Linked DNA regions of Homo sapiens: region 2 is linked to region 1. The links are contacts of gene promoters, found by promoter capture Hi-C in blood cells and fetal thymus (Javierre and others, 2016). All regions are on one chromosome and are shown on one strand. Each heading gives the region's core, a stretch centred on a gene start or on the middle of the fragment in contact. The rest is flanking DNA. Distances are from core to core; before and after follow the strand shown.

The links. Contacts are between HindIII fragments. The CHiCAGO score rates a contact against its expected background, and 5 or more counts as called.
Region 2: a fragment that was not itself captured here is called in contact with the fragment with the promoter of RAB30 in region 1 in 1 of 17 cell types (naive CD8 T cells); the score reaches 6.4 in naive CD8 T cells.

Annotation. Positions count from the first base shown.
Region 1 is chr11:83,070,001-83,073,146 of GRCh38, reverse strand. It overlaps RAB30 (RAB30, member RAS oncogene family), which reads left to right and starts at 1,250. Exons shown (of 5, transcript NM_001286060.2): 1 at 1,250-1,456. It overlaps RAB30-DT (RAB30 divergent transcript), which reads right to left and starts at 1,081. Exons shown (of 3, transcript NR_038903.1): 1 at 1,001-1,081; 2 at 343-524. LINC02951 (long intergenic non-protein coding RNA 2951) reads left to right here. Exons shown (of 3, transcript NR_186233.1): 3 at 451-745. RefSeq lists enhancers at 808-1,297, 3,061-3,146. The HindIII fragment of the contact is 10,527 bases long and covers 554-3,146 here.
Region 2 is chr11:85,657,726-85,660,871 of GRCh38, reverse strand. CREBZF (CREB/ATF bZIP transcription factor) reads left to right here. Exons shown (of 1, transcript NM_001039618.4): 1 at 1-2,882. Among named protein-coding and RNA genes, the nearest start is that of CREBZF, 5.8 kb to the left of the region's middle. The HindIII fragment of the contact is 4,467 bases long and covers 1-3,146 here.

The DNA.
Region 1 (3,146 bases), core at 1-2,500:
TATTGCCAGACGTCAGAAGGCCTATCATCAATAATATCCCACCCCTCCCGCCTTTTCTGAGACACGGGCTTGCTGTCGCCCAGGCTGGAGCACAGTGGTAGGATCGAGGCTCACTGCAGCCTCAACATCCCGGGCTCAAGCGATCCTCCCACCTCAGCCTCTAGTGTAGCTGCAACTACAGGGGTACACCACCATGCCCAGCTAATTTTTTTGTTTAATGTTTTTGTAGAGACGGTACGGGGTCTCCGCATGTTGCCCAGGCTGGGGTTGAACTCCTAGAATCACGCTATCTCCCCGCGTCTGCCCCCAAAGTGCTGGGATTAAAGGCGTGAGCGACCGCACCTGGCCAATATCCCCTTTGAACATCTGCTTTCGCTGGTTGGTAAAAAAGTGTCATTTTAAATTTAGTGTTACTCCTTCAGGCTATTCCCTCTCTCTTCTTACTTGCAGGGCCAAAGCAACGTCTCTTTCCACCTTGGTCACCTTCCAACAACGATTTCTTCGGACGCCTTTGTTAATCATTCCTGTATGAAAAATCAGTGAATCTGAAGCTTTGGGGAGAGTGAAAGGGGGTTGGAAAACAAACGGCAAAACAAAAATGCATTTCGGAGGACTACCCCAACTCTGTGGGTGGAAGTGGGCTTCTCCGAATAAAGGCGAGGGTCGCCGCCTCGGGTCCTCGCACCTCAACAAAAGACACCAACTCTCTCAACTGTACTGTTAACAGATCTAAATGATACTCCAAGCCCAAAAGTAAACCGACTCTCTCAATCTCTTAGCTAAAAAATGGAGAAGGAAGCGTAGGGCCCCATGCAACCCCTTCAGGAGCTGAGACCGAGGCTCACTGGGCCTCTGGATGCCGCTTCCAGTCGGTCCCGCCCTACATCAGTCCCCAGCATGGCCTCCACCCTCTGGTTCCCAGGTTCGTGCCCGCGGCTATCCGACCAGATCGTCCTCCACCTCACCGTCCCCACTGAACCACCACTTGACTCCTGCGCACCCCTAAAACCTCTGCCCGGCTCCGCGGAATCGTCCCAGTACTCCTAACATGGCGGCCGAGTCCCCTTTGCTCCTTCACTCTGGGCGCGTCCCACTTGGAGCATTTTGGGCATTGTAGTTTCGGGGATTGCCTGGGTATCCCTTCAGGACGTAAGAAGACTACAGTTCCCAGAAAGCACCGCTCCCGAGCATGGCTATTGGGGACGTTTGGACAGAGGGATGATGTCATTGCAAAAGCCCCACTGCATTCATTGTGCTACGGTCTCTCCACCCCCTGCTGCTGCTGGGCTTGCGATTGCCGCTCGCTCCAGCTGAGCTAAGTGTAGCAGCAGCACCAGGGCAGGGACTGACTCCAGCCCTTGGACTCAGGACATCGCAGACCTTCCCTTGCGTGCGTGACTCATTCGCACATCCATTTCTGTTTATGCCTGGGGTGGGGAGAAAAATCCCAAACCAGGTGAGTTGAAGTGATTTATTCAAATGCTTCTACCAAGTTATTCCTCCCGCTTAGTTCTCAAGGCTTTCTTTTGGGAAGCTGTGAGCGGTGGGGAGGTGGGGGGGATTGGGGAGAGGCTTGCAGGCACAGCTAAGGGGAAAAGCTCTGTGCCATTTGGGTCACTGCAAAGAACAACTCCAGCAACCTTCCCCCGCCAGAGGACGGGTGCCTGCCAATTCCCTAGTCGCAACTCCTCTCAACCTTTTTGAGGCGGAGAGAGGGGGCTGGGCTGGGAAGGATGTTGGGGAGTGCTCTTGGAAAATCTGAGGAAGGCAGAGGTGGGGGACTGCAGTCCTGTCACACACGGCCCGAGAGCTGAGGTTTGAGTGGGAAGGGGTGATGCGTGGGGAGAAATGGAGACAGTGAATTAATGTGGTCGCACTACTTTAGAACATTTGAATGTCGCTTGGACGAGCACTAGTTATTAATTTTTAAGATGAACGTGCTTAAGTTTTGTAGGGCTTTATTTTATGTGTGTATGTCTATGTGGTTTGTCTCGCCTTTTCTGCTGATTTGAGGTGACAGTGTCCTTTAATGGTGCACTCCGTGCCAGTCAGAAACATTTCACGTGTCTGGCGAAGGTTCTTTCAGGCTGCTGGAAGCAGCGTTTTTGTTAAATGTTTTCCGTTCTCCGACTGCTGGATTCAAGATTGTTTGGAAGTGGAGCCGACAGATTTGTGCTTGTGTGTTTTAAATTACATTGCATAGGCTCTTTGCCACTGACAATGGTACCATAATGAGCTGCTGTTTCCTGAGGCATAGTCACTACTCACAAATAACGGTTTGAAGAGATCGATTAGGGAAGAGGGGTTCATTTTAACACATTAGAGAAAGGGAAAGTTAGAAGCGCTGTTAACCTTCATTTGCCATTACTGAAAGGTGCCCATGGAAGAGTGATTTTGGTTGTTTTGTTATTGTTGTTTTTTTAAACGAACTGACATTTAACAGGAGAGAAAGCATTCTGACTTACATGATGCTCTTGTAAGAGTTATAGGGATAATTAGGGCAATAGATATGTTACTTTGAGATAAACAGCTGGCTGGCTCCACAACAGATGGGGCCAGTCTTGGCTGAGAGATCTACACCCTTGGAAATGAATGGGCCTGGGGTCAACCACACCCCCTCTTGGAATGTCAAAAGAAGGAGAAATGCCAGAGTATTTGCTTAACTCTAGAATGCTAAACCTTTTCCTAGCTGAGTCAGACATGGGCGAAATTCTTTACTGGCTGTCTTCTGCTGCTAAGCCAATTTTGTTCATTTTAAATTCAGATCCTTAGGTCTCCAAAGTTGTAGCTGTGTGATATTTCATTAAATGCTGCTTGATGCTGAATGCAAAGGACAGTCCATTGTATGGGCTTTGTAGTAGAGTGATTTATTGGGATGCCAATGAGCAGCTTTTGGATTTGGGAAAAGATCAACAGTTAGCCTTTGCCTCTGCGTCTCTCTGTTGATGACGCTCTGCTCTTCTGGACACCCTACCCTTCTCTCCTGTACTTTCATTTCTTCCCCCCACCCCACCCCATCCCACCCACATCTCTTGAAATTCTGTTTATTTCTCTATCTCTCCATTTGCAGTTTACATTTTTCCTTTCTGTTTCAAAACCCCTCCTTTATCACCAGCATATCACATCTCTTTCTCTTCAATCTTAGA
Region 2 (3,146 bases), core at 335-2,834, 2.6 Mb before region 1:
CTAGACTAAAGATGTAGCTTTTTAATATTTGTCTTTTGATGGTGGCAGGAGTTCATACATTAATTGAACTAACACATCATATTTTGACCTACTATTTCTATCATATTGACTTACTGTTTCTGCACTTCTTTGACCAGACTTATCTTAAAAAGTCCACTTTTGTTAAAATGTAGTCACACCTCTGATATAATCCAACAAGAAGTGTTCAAAATATTTTAAATATTTGTGCATTTTATAATCACTAAATTAATCTCTCTCTCTTCTCTTTGAACAGCTTAGCAGTGTCTGCAAAAACGAATCTTTTCCTACAACCTGTTAACTGACTGGACTGTTGGTAACAAAGTAATTGTGAGAACCATGTCGGTCAAAAATTTGGCATCTGCTGAAAAAAATGAATGCCATTTTCAAGTTCCCAAATTACTTCTATACTGATTTCACTTTCCAGAAATGGAGATATGAAAAGATTCTCTGGAATCCTTGAAAGACTTAATAGAGATACATGAGACTAAGTTAATCTTGGAACAAAATTATACTTTTTTTGTCTTTCATGGGAGTGATACTCAGTTATTGCATATCTTTACAAAATTGTAACCTTTGGAGAATTACAGTATTTCATCAAGAAATTAGAGTTTTTACATAATCAAGAGCATATTCTATGGAATTAACATTTAGTGGACTAGAATTACATAAGCAGGCCATCAGTGATCACAAGGCATATGAGTTTGTATTTATTTCCTGGAACATGAGAGCTAATTTGGAGTACAGACAGACACCCTGCTGAGTAGAATATAAAAGTTAATGTAAAGTTCTGAACTATAAAGAGTAGTCCTTTTAAATAGATGCATTGATTTGTATATCTTTGAAAAAGTTGATTATGATTAAATGTGTGGGTAGTTAATTACAATTTAGGGTAACAACCAGGATGTATGGATTCTTGAGGTTTTGGCTTCTTGAGCTTTCTCTTGAGTACTTGATACTGTTTTCTGAATATTTTGAGGTTTCTAATTAATGGTATGCTAGTTTCTACTGTTTTATATAAAAATTTATCTAGTGTTGTATAAGGACTTTAGTATTGTGGATGATGGGAGTGGCTTTTTGTGGCATATGGTTGTTTTAATTGAAATATTTTTTCAGTTTATTACAAGTGTGAAAAAACACTCAAAACTCTGGATTGTTTTATTTCATTTTTGTTGGATTATGTTAATACATTCCTTCACGTGGTTTAGATTGAGTCATTTTATCTCACTTACTTGGAAATGTGCAGCTGATAGAAGAGGGATTGGGTAGGAGATTGGCTTTTACTTCATAATAAATATACAGTTGGTTATTGTATTATTCAAAACTTATTAAATCCATTCAGTTTCTTACCATTTTAAGTGTATTCAGTGCCTGTGAAGCCAGGCAGCAGAGTATTCCCACTGGCTTAAAACTTAGGCGCTGATGCTCCTACAGTACAGCTAGTTATAATTCCAGAACCAAAGGCACCAACATTATTTGGTGACCTTAACTACTACTTTGATAGAACAGACTGGGTAATTCACTGATAATGAGTCATTACCTTTTTAATATGTGATTATCTAGTTCAGCATTTTGAATGTGTAGTTTAAGGTCTGATTTAGTAAAATTTTAAAGCTAAATAATCTGATGACTCTTGAAAGTTTAATTGGTAGTATGACATTTATGTTTTTTTCCCCCAGACTCACAGCCAATACAAAGTTTTGAGACTCCTAAATGTTAATATTTTTGCTGTTTTTCTGAGCTGTTTTTTTATTTACTTACCACCTAAGCTGCGGATCAAAAAGGGAATTCTTCCATTAGAAATTTGTAGTGTTGTGTGGCCAGCACAGTATTTTTCAGATTTGAATTTCAGTACCTCTGTGTAGCCTCAGTACTCTCAACACCAGTCACTCTTTATTGTCTTAAAATATTCCATACTTTTTGTTGACCCAAAATTGTTGAAAATATTTTGCTCAGTTTTCACAATGAACTAATTGAAAAGTGTAGTTACTGTGTTGTAAACATTTGTGTAGTTCTGTTAATACACTGATTTGAATTTTATTTATCTCAACTTCCTTTAGCGTCTGCCTCCAAATTTTGTCTTTGCTGTATACCCACTGAGATCAATTCCCTAGACCCCTCTGGCTCTTAGTGTACTATAATTTGGGCTTTATAAAATATATTGTCTTAATTTAAATAGAATGTGAGCCCTCTTTTTTTTTTTTTAAGCCAAATAACTACACAAAGTAAATTATAAAAGATTTAAATAGTTTGTCTACAGTGACTAGACTGAAATATAAAAATTGATTGAGGGTAGTTTACTTCAGGTGTTAGCTACAAATGACTAAATGTCCTTAAATAATGCAGATATCTGCCCTCTGAACAAAAATTTTGGCAAAGTAAATTTGTAGCAACAGACTTAACATGATTTATTGCTTATGTTGCCCATTTCTGCTAATGGAAAAGATAATTTAAAAATATGTGGCAGAGGACAGATATTAGAAATACTTTTTGGTTACAGAAACCATTGTAAACTCATCCTCATTTATAAATGGTATTATGCTAGGGAGTAATTGGACTAGGAATGTTTAAAGATAAGTAAGGAAACAATGTGTGCTCAATCGTCAAAGAACTTAGTTATATCATTGGGCTTTGAATTATCTAAGTTGATTACATAATTCTATATTCTTAAGGAGTCTTAACTCGGTACTTGGGTTAACGCCAGAAATTACTTTTAATTCATTGTTTTTTTCACTGGGATGAGTAGAACTCTGCTTTTAGTAAAAGTGACAGAATATAGGTAAAATGGATGATTTGGGATCAGAGCTTTTCATCTTGATATTTTAGCCTGTAAAATAAACAGCTATATTGTTTTGCCCTTTAAATGTTATATATATTTTTCTGTCTTTCTTTCCCTAGTTGTAAAAGTAAAGCATATTCTTTATAGAAAACTTGGAATATCCTGAAAGGAATCAAGAAGAAAAGAAAAATCACCCTTATAACTCTATAAGCCATAGAATATCCACAGTAAACATTTTGGCATGCTTCCTTTCAGTCTCTTGTGCACATAGATTCTTTTGCCTCATAACTGGGATCATTTTTTATATAAGTTTGGTAGATAATATATTTTATGTGCCTGTTGAAAGAAC